Linked DNA regions of Homo sapiens: region 2 is linked to region 1. The links are contacts of gene promoters, found by promoter capture Hi-C in human tissues and cell types (Jung and others, 2019). All regions are on one chromosome and are shown on one strand. The core of a region is centred on a gene start or on the middle of the fragment in contact, and the rest is flanking DNA. Distances in the headings are between cores, read along the strand shown. Region 1 holds the start of NBL1 (NBL1, DAN family BMP antagonist). Region 2 overlaps CAPZB (capping actin protein of muscle Z-line subunit beta).

Evidence for each region. The method cuts DNA at HindIII sites, captures the fragments that hold promoters and counts their contacts. A contact is called where the count stands out against the background at its distance.
Region 2: a contact is called between a fragment that was not itself captured here and the fragment with the promoter of NBL1 in region 1, in 7 of the 25 tissues and cell types used here (H1 embryonic stem cells, IMR-90 fibroblasts, heart left ventricle and 4 more).

Annotation. Positions count from the first base shown.
Region 1 is chr1:19,641,732-19,645,602 of GRCh38, forward strand. NBL1 (NBL1, DAN family BMP antagonist) reads left to right here and starts at 2,580. Exons shown (of 4, transcript NM_005380.8): 1 at 2,580-2,715. The region is part of intron 1 of MICOS10-NBL1 (MICOS10-NBL1 readthrough); the gene reads left to right. RefSeq lists an enhancer at 1,592-2,427 and a silencer at 2,326-2,665. The HindIII fragment of the contact is 7,978 bases long and covers 1-3,559 here.
Region 2 is chr1:19,402,155-19,406,025 of GRCh38, forward strand. All of the region lies in intron 2 of CAPZB (capping actin protein of muscle Z-line subunit beta), which reads right to left. Among named protein-coding and RNA genes, the nearest start is that of CAPZB, 81 kb to the right of the region's middle. RefSeq lists an enhancer at 385-1,062. The HindIII fragment of the contact is 4,541 bases long and covers 1-3,871 here.

The sequences.
Region 1 (3,871 bases), core at 1,330-3,829:
GTGTGACTTTAGGCGAGTTACTTAACCTTTCTCTTGACGTTCCTTTTTTCACTTTTTTTTTTTTTTTTTGAGACAAGGCCTTGCTGGAGTGACAAGCTCATTAGGTTCCACAATTAGCCTTCTGCAATGTTGTCCAGGCTGGAGTACAGTGGCACAATCATAGCTCACTGCAGCCTCAAACTCCTGGGATCAAGTGATCCTCCAGCCTCGGGATTTTTTTCACTTTTATTATTTTATTTGTTTGTTTGTTTATTTATTTATTTATTTGAGATGGAGTCTCACTCTGCCTCCCAGGCTGGAGTGCAGTGGTGCGATCTCGGCTCACTGCAACCTCCGCCTCTCAGGTTCAAGTGATTCTCCTGCCTCAGCCTCCCGAGTAGCTGGGACTACAGGCACACGCCACCACACCTGGCTGATTTTTGTATTTTTAGTAGAGAGAGGGTTTCGCCATATTGGCCAGGCTGGTCTCGAACTCCTGACCTCAAGTGATCCTCCTGCCTTGGCCTCCCAAAGTGCTGGGATTACAAGCATGAGCCACTGCGCCTGGCACTTTTAAAACAGAGACAATACTTACCTCATAGGTTTATTGTGAGAGTGGCAACAGCTTGCAATGGGATGAGGCACATGGTAAGGTGCTCAATATGTGTGAACTATTATAACGGTCATAGTTACCATTAAGGGAAGACCTATCTGTGCTACATTAATGGGGGATAATAATTACTTTATTCGCTGGGCGTGGTGGTTCATGCCTATAATCCCAACACTTTGGGAGGCTGAGGCGGGAGGATCACTTGAGGCCAGGAGTTGGAGACCAGCCTGGGCAACATGGCAAAACCCCATCTCTACTAAAAATACAAAAACTAGCTGGGCGTGGTGGTGGGCGTCTGTAATCCCAGCTACTCGGGAGGCTGAGAATTGCTGGAACCTGGGAGGCAGAGGTTGCAGTGAGCCGAGATCACGCCATTGCATTTCAGCCAGGGCAACAAGAGCAAAATTCTGTCTCTAATAATAATAATAATAACAACAACAACAACAACAACAACAACTTCATTCAACCAAATACATTGTACATCTCACCTGGCCTGCCCATAAGCAATGGAGACACTGAAATAAACACGATTCCTGCCCTCAAGGTCTAATGGAGGAAAGAGATGTACACAGCTATTCTAGAGGGAAATTGACATGAACAGAAGTTCTCATCCTGTGCTCCAGGATCACACTGGAGGAGGGAGATGCTCCCAGAGGGTCTTGGGAAGGCTTTCCAATCTGGAGCTGGAAGAATGTTTGCCCAAGAGATGTACACAGTTATTCTAGAGGGAAATTGACATGAACAGAAGTTCTCATCCTGTGCTCCAGGATCACACTGGAGGAGGGAGATGCTCCCAAAGGGTCTTGGGAAGGCTTTCCAATCTGGAGCTGGAAGAATGTTTGCCAGAGATGAAAGGAGGGGAAGGGAATTCCGGGCAGAGGGAAGGGCGCAGGCAACAGCTAGGAGGCGCAGATGCAGGCTGGGTGTGGAGGGTGCGAGTAGGCTGGAGTACACCAGGGAGTTCCCAGCAGGCCACTAGGAGCCACCCAGGATGCCCGGCAACCTCATGAGTCAGACAAGCAGGGCTGTGTCTATCTGGAAGTTTCCAGCCAAGCTAGGTAAAACACATGGACACAGGTAACTATGCTGTAAAGCAAAATCCCCAAGTCCTACAATCGTGTCCCAGTGGTGTCCCTGGGCCACCACTTTCCAGAAGCAAAGTTATTTTCTCACCCCGTTGTTAAGCACACAGAATAGAGAAGGTACGGCCGCAATCCACCCAAGTGCCCACTGATTAGATAGGAACCCCCGAGGTGAGGCTGGAAGCTGGGGCCAGGAGCTCCACTCTTCCCAGGAGTCAGAGAAGTGAGTTCATTTGCTGGCTTTTTAGTTCCTAATAAGTCCCTGGGGCTTTTCGGGATGCTTAAGCCAAGGGCGTGGGGCCGAGAGCGACACTAGGATAACACTAGGCAAGGCTGAGCAACCCAGGCTACCAACAGCACGGACTTGAACCGGGTCGCATGCCGGAGCGGACGGGATGAGGTGCACCGCAGAACTGGGGACTCCTGGTGCCGGGACGCGGCGGGCTGGGGCGCCCCACTCTCGGGGCAAGTCTGCAATGCCCGGTGCCCACAAAAAGGACACATCCATCTTTGTCACCCCGAGGCCTGGCACGGCCTGACGGCCCAGGCTCGGTAAAAGTCGGGCGGAGAGAGTGGAAGCGCAGAGAAACCCGGGGAGGGCGCTTAAGAACGGGCCAGGGCGCCCGGCTGGGCTGCCCTGCCTCTCGGGCGCCGGCCAGGCGTCCCGGCCGCCCCACCACGCCGTCGGAGCGCGCCGAAGCTCAGCCCGGGGCGGGCGGGCCAGGAGAGGGCCCGGGGCCCCTGCCGCCGCGGCGCCCCCTCCTGCGCACCCGGAGGGAGAGGCCGCGCGCGCCCGCCCGCTCTTTCTGCGCGCGGCCCTCCCCGCTGCCCCCGCCCTCGCGCCCTGTTTGGAGGGAGCCACCCTGACGTCGGAGCCGCTCCCCCGCGCCGCGCGCCCGCCCGGGGCCGCAGACAGCGCGCAGCGCAGCCCAGCCGAGCGTCGCGGGGCCGCCCCCCGCCCTGCCGGCCGCCTCGCCGAGCCTCCTGGGGCGCCCGGGCCCGCGACCCCCGCACCCAGCTCCGCAGGACCGGCGGGCGCGCGCGGTAAGTCCCGCCCGGGTCGGCACGCGGGCGCCCGGCTTCCAGAGGCTTCGGCCGCGGGGGCAGTGCCGCGCCCCCAGCCCGGAGCTGCGTCCCCCGGCGCGTCCGGCGGCCGCGGGCACCGGGTGGAGGCGCCGCCGCCGAGCTCAGGAGCCCTGGGGGACCTGGCGGGCGCCTCCGGACGCCGGCGCTGGGGACGTGGGCGCGGCACGGGGTGGCCGGGGGGCACCGCCGCGTCCGGAGCCCGTCCCCAGACTCGCCCCAGGGTTCCGTTTCTGGATCGGAGTTTCCGCGGCCGGGGGAGAGAGGGAGCGAGGGAGGGAGATGCGTGGCCGGGCGGGCCGGGCTCGCATGTCCCCCGGCCGTGCCCGGGCCTCGCCGCGCCGCGCCTCTCGGCTCTGGACGTTTCCGCCTCCCGCGGCCCCCTCTGCTTCGGTCCCCACGTCCGTGTGTCTGTCTCTCCGTCGCTCCGTTTCCGCCGCTCACTTTCCCCTGGTCTGCCCGTCTCTTTCCGTTCCCCGCCTGCCTCCGTGTTCGGCTGCCCGCGTTTGTGTCTCTGCCTCTGGCTTTTCTCTCCCTCTCTCTGTCTCTGCGCTGCCCTCTGTGGGGGTCTCGCCCTGTGTCTGCGCCTCTCCCTGATCCCCCGCCCTCCGATCCAGACAATCCCCCAGTGTCGGAGGCTCGCCTTCCCCCAGCGGGGTTCACGAATAGTTTCCTAGACCGGGTGCGGCAAACCCTCCCCCTGCCTCCCGCCGGCCCCGAGGCCTGGCCCGGGTCATCTCCCTGGAATTGAGTCTGGGGCAGGGAGAGCCAGCCTTTCCGGGGGCTCAGTTTTCTTAAGAATTCCACCCCCGCGAGGCCGGCTGGACGACAGGCCCTGCTGCGGGCCACCTGCCCGGCCCGCTCCCAGGGCGGGGCGATTCTGATCGTTTACAAGCGGCGGCAAAGGGGGCAGCCGCCTGCCTTGGCGTGGCCGGAGGTTGGCGGGCATCAAGGGAGAAAGCCACACTTCCAGGCTTTCGGAGGCCCTCGCTCCCCAAGCTGGACGCCACCAGCCTGTAACTAGGGGCACCCCAGGAAAACAGAGGTCAGGGCTGGAGGCCAAAGACCGGGCGCTGGCGGGGAAGCAATTTGTCAACAAGGAGCCCCTCACCCTTTG
Region 2 (3,871 bases), core at 888-3,387, 240 kb before region 1:
TTCCCTCAAGAGCAGCAGCTGTTCCCACCAGGGCTGCGAAGGAATCAACAGGAACTGAGAGAACACCTGAATGGTCTGATTCAGAAAGTCCCAGCTCCCTGTGAGGTCAATAAAGAACTTTGTCTCAACAGAGGCAACAAGGCCACTGCCTCCTAGGAAAGGACTGATGTGGGCTTTTCTAGAGGCAGGCAGGCTCTTGGATCAACAGGCTTACAAGGGCACATTTCTCAGTTACGATCTTAAAATTGCAGGGAACCTGCTGATCTCTGTCCCTTACCCATCTAGAAAGTCTGAGTGGGAGCTAACAGCTGATCCTCAGCAAAACCAGAGTGTGCGCCCATCACCTGCTTTCTGGTAAGGGACCCATGTGGCCTGAATCAAAACTCAAAGCTCACTAGACACCAATTCACACGCTCTATCTAATCAGGCAGAAACCCAGCTGCTCCTGCTCAGTCCCTGCCCAGCTAGTACCTTCCCACCACCCACCAGCTGTATCTCAGGCTCTGCCCACTCTAAGCTTTCCCTGGGATTTGCCTGCCAAGGGTGGGCCACGGTGTCCTCTGTGGTGCTCTGCAGTGCCCATGTTCCTCACATCAGAAGCCTTGCATTCTGGCTGGGAGCGGTGGCTCACCTCTGTAATCCCAGCACTTTGGAAGGCCGAGGCGGGTAGATCACCTGAGGTCAGGAGTTCGAGACCAGCATGGCCAACATGGTGAAACTCCATCTCTACTAAAAATACAAAAAATTAGCTGGGGGTGGTGGCAGGCACCTGTAATCCCAGCTACTTGGGAGGCTGAGGCAGGAGAATTGCTTGAACCAGGGAGGCAGAGGTTGCAGTGAGCCAAGATTGTGCCATCACACTCCAGCCTGGGCAACAAGAACAAAACTCCATCTCTAAAACAAAACAAAAAAAAAGAAGCCTTGCATTCTATCCATCCTGGGTTATCTGGCTCCCACCGTGGCTATGAGCTCTTTAAAGACACAACTATTCTGTTGTCACTCTGACCCTGGTGCTTCAGCTTAGGCAGGGCCTTGCATTCATGGGGGCTCAAGTAGGCATGCACTCACTGAATGTCCGCTTCAGGCTTGACAGTGGGGATACAAAGGTGAACAAAAGAAAAGATCCCTGCCCTCCAAGAGCCAAAGCTCCTAGGATGGAGCAAGTCCAAGAGACAGGAGAAGCAAGGGGCATGCTGGGGGGCAGGGTGAGGGAAGTGAGGCTCCAGCGGAGATGGGAAGATGAGCAGTTAGAGGGAGCAGAGTTGGTGTGGACATGTGTCCCAGTCAAGGAAACGGCATGTACAAAGATGCAACAAGACAGGGCACAGGCCTGGGAGTGTGCAAGACAAGGAGACAGGAGGAAGGGGCAGGGCCAGATCAAGAGCTCTTCCACCTAGATGTGTTCTCCGGGCTTGATCCCGACAATGTGGAGTCATTAAGGGACATTATCCGAAGTGCATTTTGGCAAGACTACTCTGTATGCAGAGCAGGCAGGGGATGACAGGCAGGAAGGCCTGTCTACAGGCTATTATAACACTCCAGTAATGCAGGGAGGAGCAGTAGCAATAAACATTCATTGAACTGCTCTAAAATGAGGATTGGGACATACCTTCACCCAACAGGCTGGATAAGGTGGATGGCACTCTGTAAAAAAGTGACCCCGCTTTGGGCAGGTGGAACTACATCTCCACTGGCCTTCAGCAGCCTGAGCTGCACCCAGTGCCCCTTCTGCCTGCCTCCCTCCTGGACTCCAGCCGCAGTTCCTCCCTGTCACATGCCCTACTTAACGCCTGCAGCATCAAGACTCAAGAGGTTGAAGTACAAGAGGTAACAGTAGTAGGCCGGGCACGGTGGCATCACTTGAGGTCGGGAGTTTGAGACTAGCCTGGCCAACATGGTGAAATCTCGTCTCTACTAAATATACAAAAATTAGCTGGCTATAGTGGTACACACCTGTAGTCCCAGCTACTCGGGAGGCTGAAGCAGGAGAATCGCTTGAATTGGGCAGGCAGAAGTTGCAGTGAGCCAAGATCGTACAACTGCACTCCAGCCTGGGAGACAGACTGAGACTCCATCTCAAAAAAAAAAAAAAAAAAAAAAAAAATATGGCTGGGCGCAGTGGCTCATGCCTGTAATCTCAGCACTTTGGGAGGCCGAGGCAGGCAGATCACTTGAGGTCAGGAGTTTGAAACCAGCCTGGCCAAATTGGTAAAACCGCATCTCTACTAAAAATACAAAACTTAGCCAGGCACGGTGGTACAGGCCAGTAGTTCCAGCTATTCCAGACGCTGAGGCTGGAGAATCACTTGAACTCGGGAGGTGGAGGCTGCAGTGAGACGAGATCACGCCACTGTACTCCAGCCTGGGTGACAGAGCAAAACTCCATGTTAAAAAAAAAAAAAAAAAAAAAGAGGTAATGGGAAAAATGCTCGCTTGTCATTGCAAGATCTGAGCTCACCTCACAGTCCCTCTCCCACCTGGAAGAAGGCAGGACATTTCAGAGCCCGATCAAGCAGCATTCACCCACCTATCTGGCCAAACAGGGAAACGCAGGCTGCTTTTGACAAGGGGCACGCACCCTCCTCCTTAAAAGGACAGCTCAGCAATCATGGGAAAGCAGTGGATTCCAGCCGCTCCTGTCAGGGATTCCACCACCTTCTTTGGATGATTTGCACCAAGTATTTTCCCTACATGACTTCCTTTAATATTCACAATTGTCCTCTTTTAGAGTGAGGCAAATCCAGAATTCTCTCCATTACACAGATGAGGAAACTGAGGCCTGGAGTCTGGTAGCTTACCGAGGGTCACCTAGATATTCAGGATGCATGCTCCCAGCCCCAGCTAACTCATGACTCCGTGACCTTAAAGACTCTGTCCATATACTGCCACCTGCCGGGACCACCAGCCCTTGAGTCCCAGGGGCTGAGGTCTCCTGAGTCATAGCTCAGCTCCAAGAGGCATCCGTCCCTTCTCATCTCTGGGTCTCAGATCACACAGCCTAGAATGTCTAATGTGGACTCCCCTCAGAATTTGGGGATAGCAGGGTTTTTGGTTCATTATCTCATATTTATTTGTGGCCATATCGACATGTGGCCAGGCACTGTGTTAGGGTCTGGGGATAGAGGTGAGCATCATGGCATCCCGCAGGTGCTCGGAAGCCAGAGGGCCCTCCAGTGCTAAGAGTACAGTTACAGCACACAGCAGTGCTTTCAGTGCGTTAGATAAAACGTGGAGATTTGGCTGCCCCTACAGGCAGCGTTTGGGACTAGGAAGGTCAATGAGACAGGAAAACAATGCGGGCGAAGAAGTATTAAGCCTCTTTAAAACACCTGATGTACATATCTCCTCTACTCCCAACTGATGTTCAACACATAGCTAGAAAGAGGCAAAAAAAAAAAAAAAAAAAAAAAATCCCCTTGTATGAAGGATAATCCTTTCAGCCTGGGGCAAATCTCCTGAAGAGTTTTGTTCTGAACTAGGAGTGTTGTTTTAGCTTCCAGTCAATAGTAATTAAGAGTCCCAATATATTCCAGAAAGAGGGAGAGGGAGATTAACGATCATTAAATCTCTTCTGCATTTGGCTCCAAATCTCTTTTCGGAGGGGCCGGCTGTCAGATGATCCCTCCAAAGCGTCCATCTGACAGCACTCCCGCCGCCACCATCTGGAACATCAATTCGAGAGCTCGCCTGAAGGTTTCAATTACATAAAAGGCAATGGGCCCATTAGGACCCGAGAGTCTGGAGCTTCACAAGCGCTGCTCACACCCCCTCTCCTGTACACAAAGCCTCTAGAATTTGGTTGGCAGTCATTTGCAAAGGGACTCATTTTGGTGGGGGCATGGGGCTGGCCAGCCCCTTGGCAAGGCCTCTC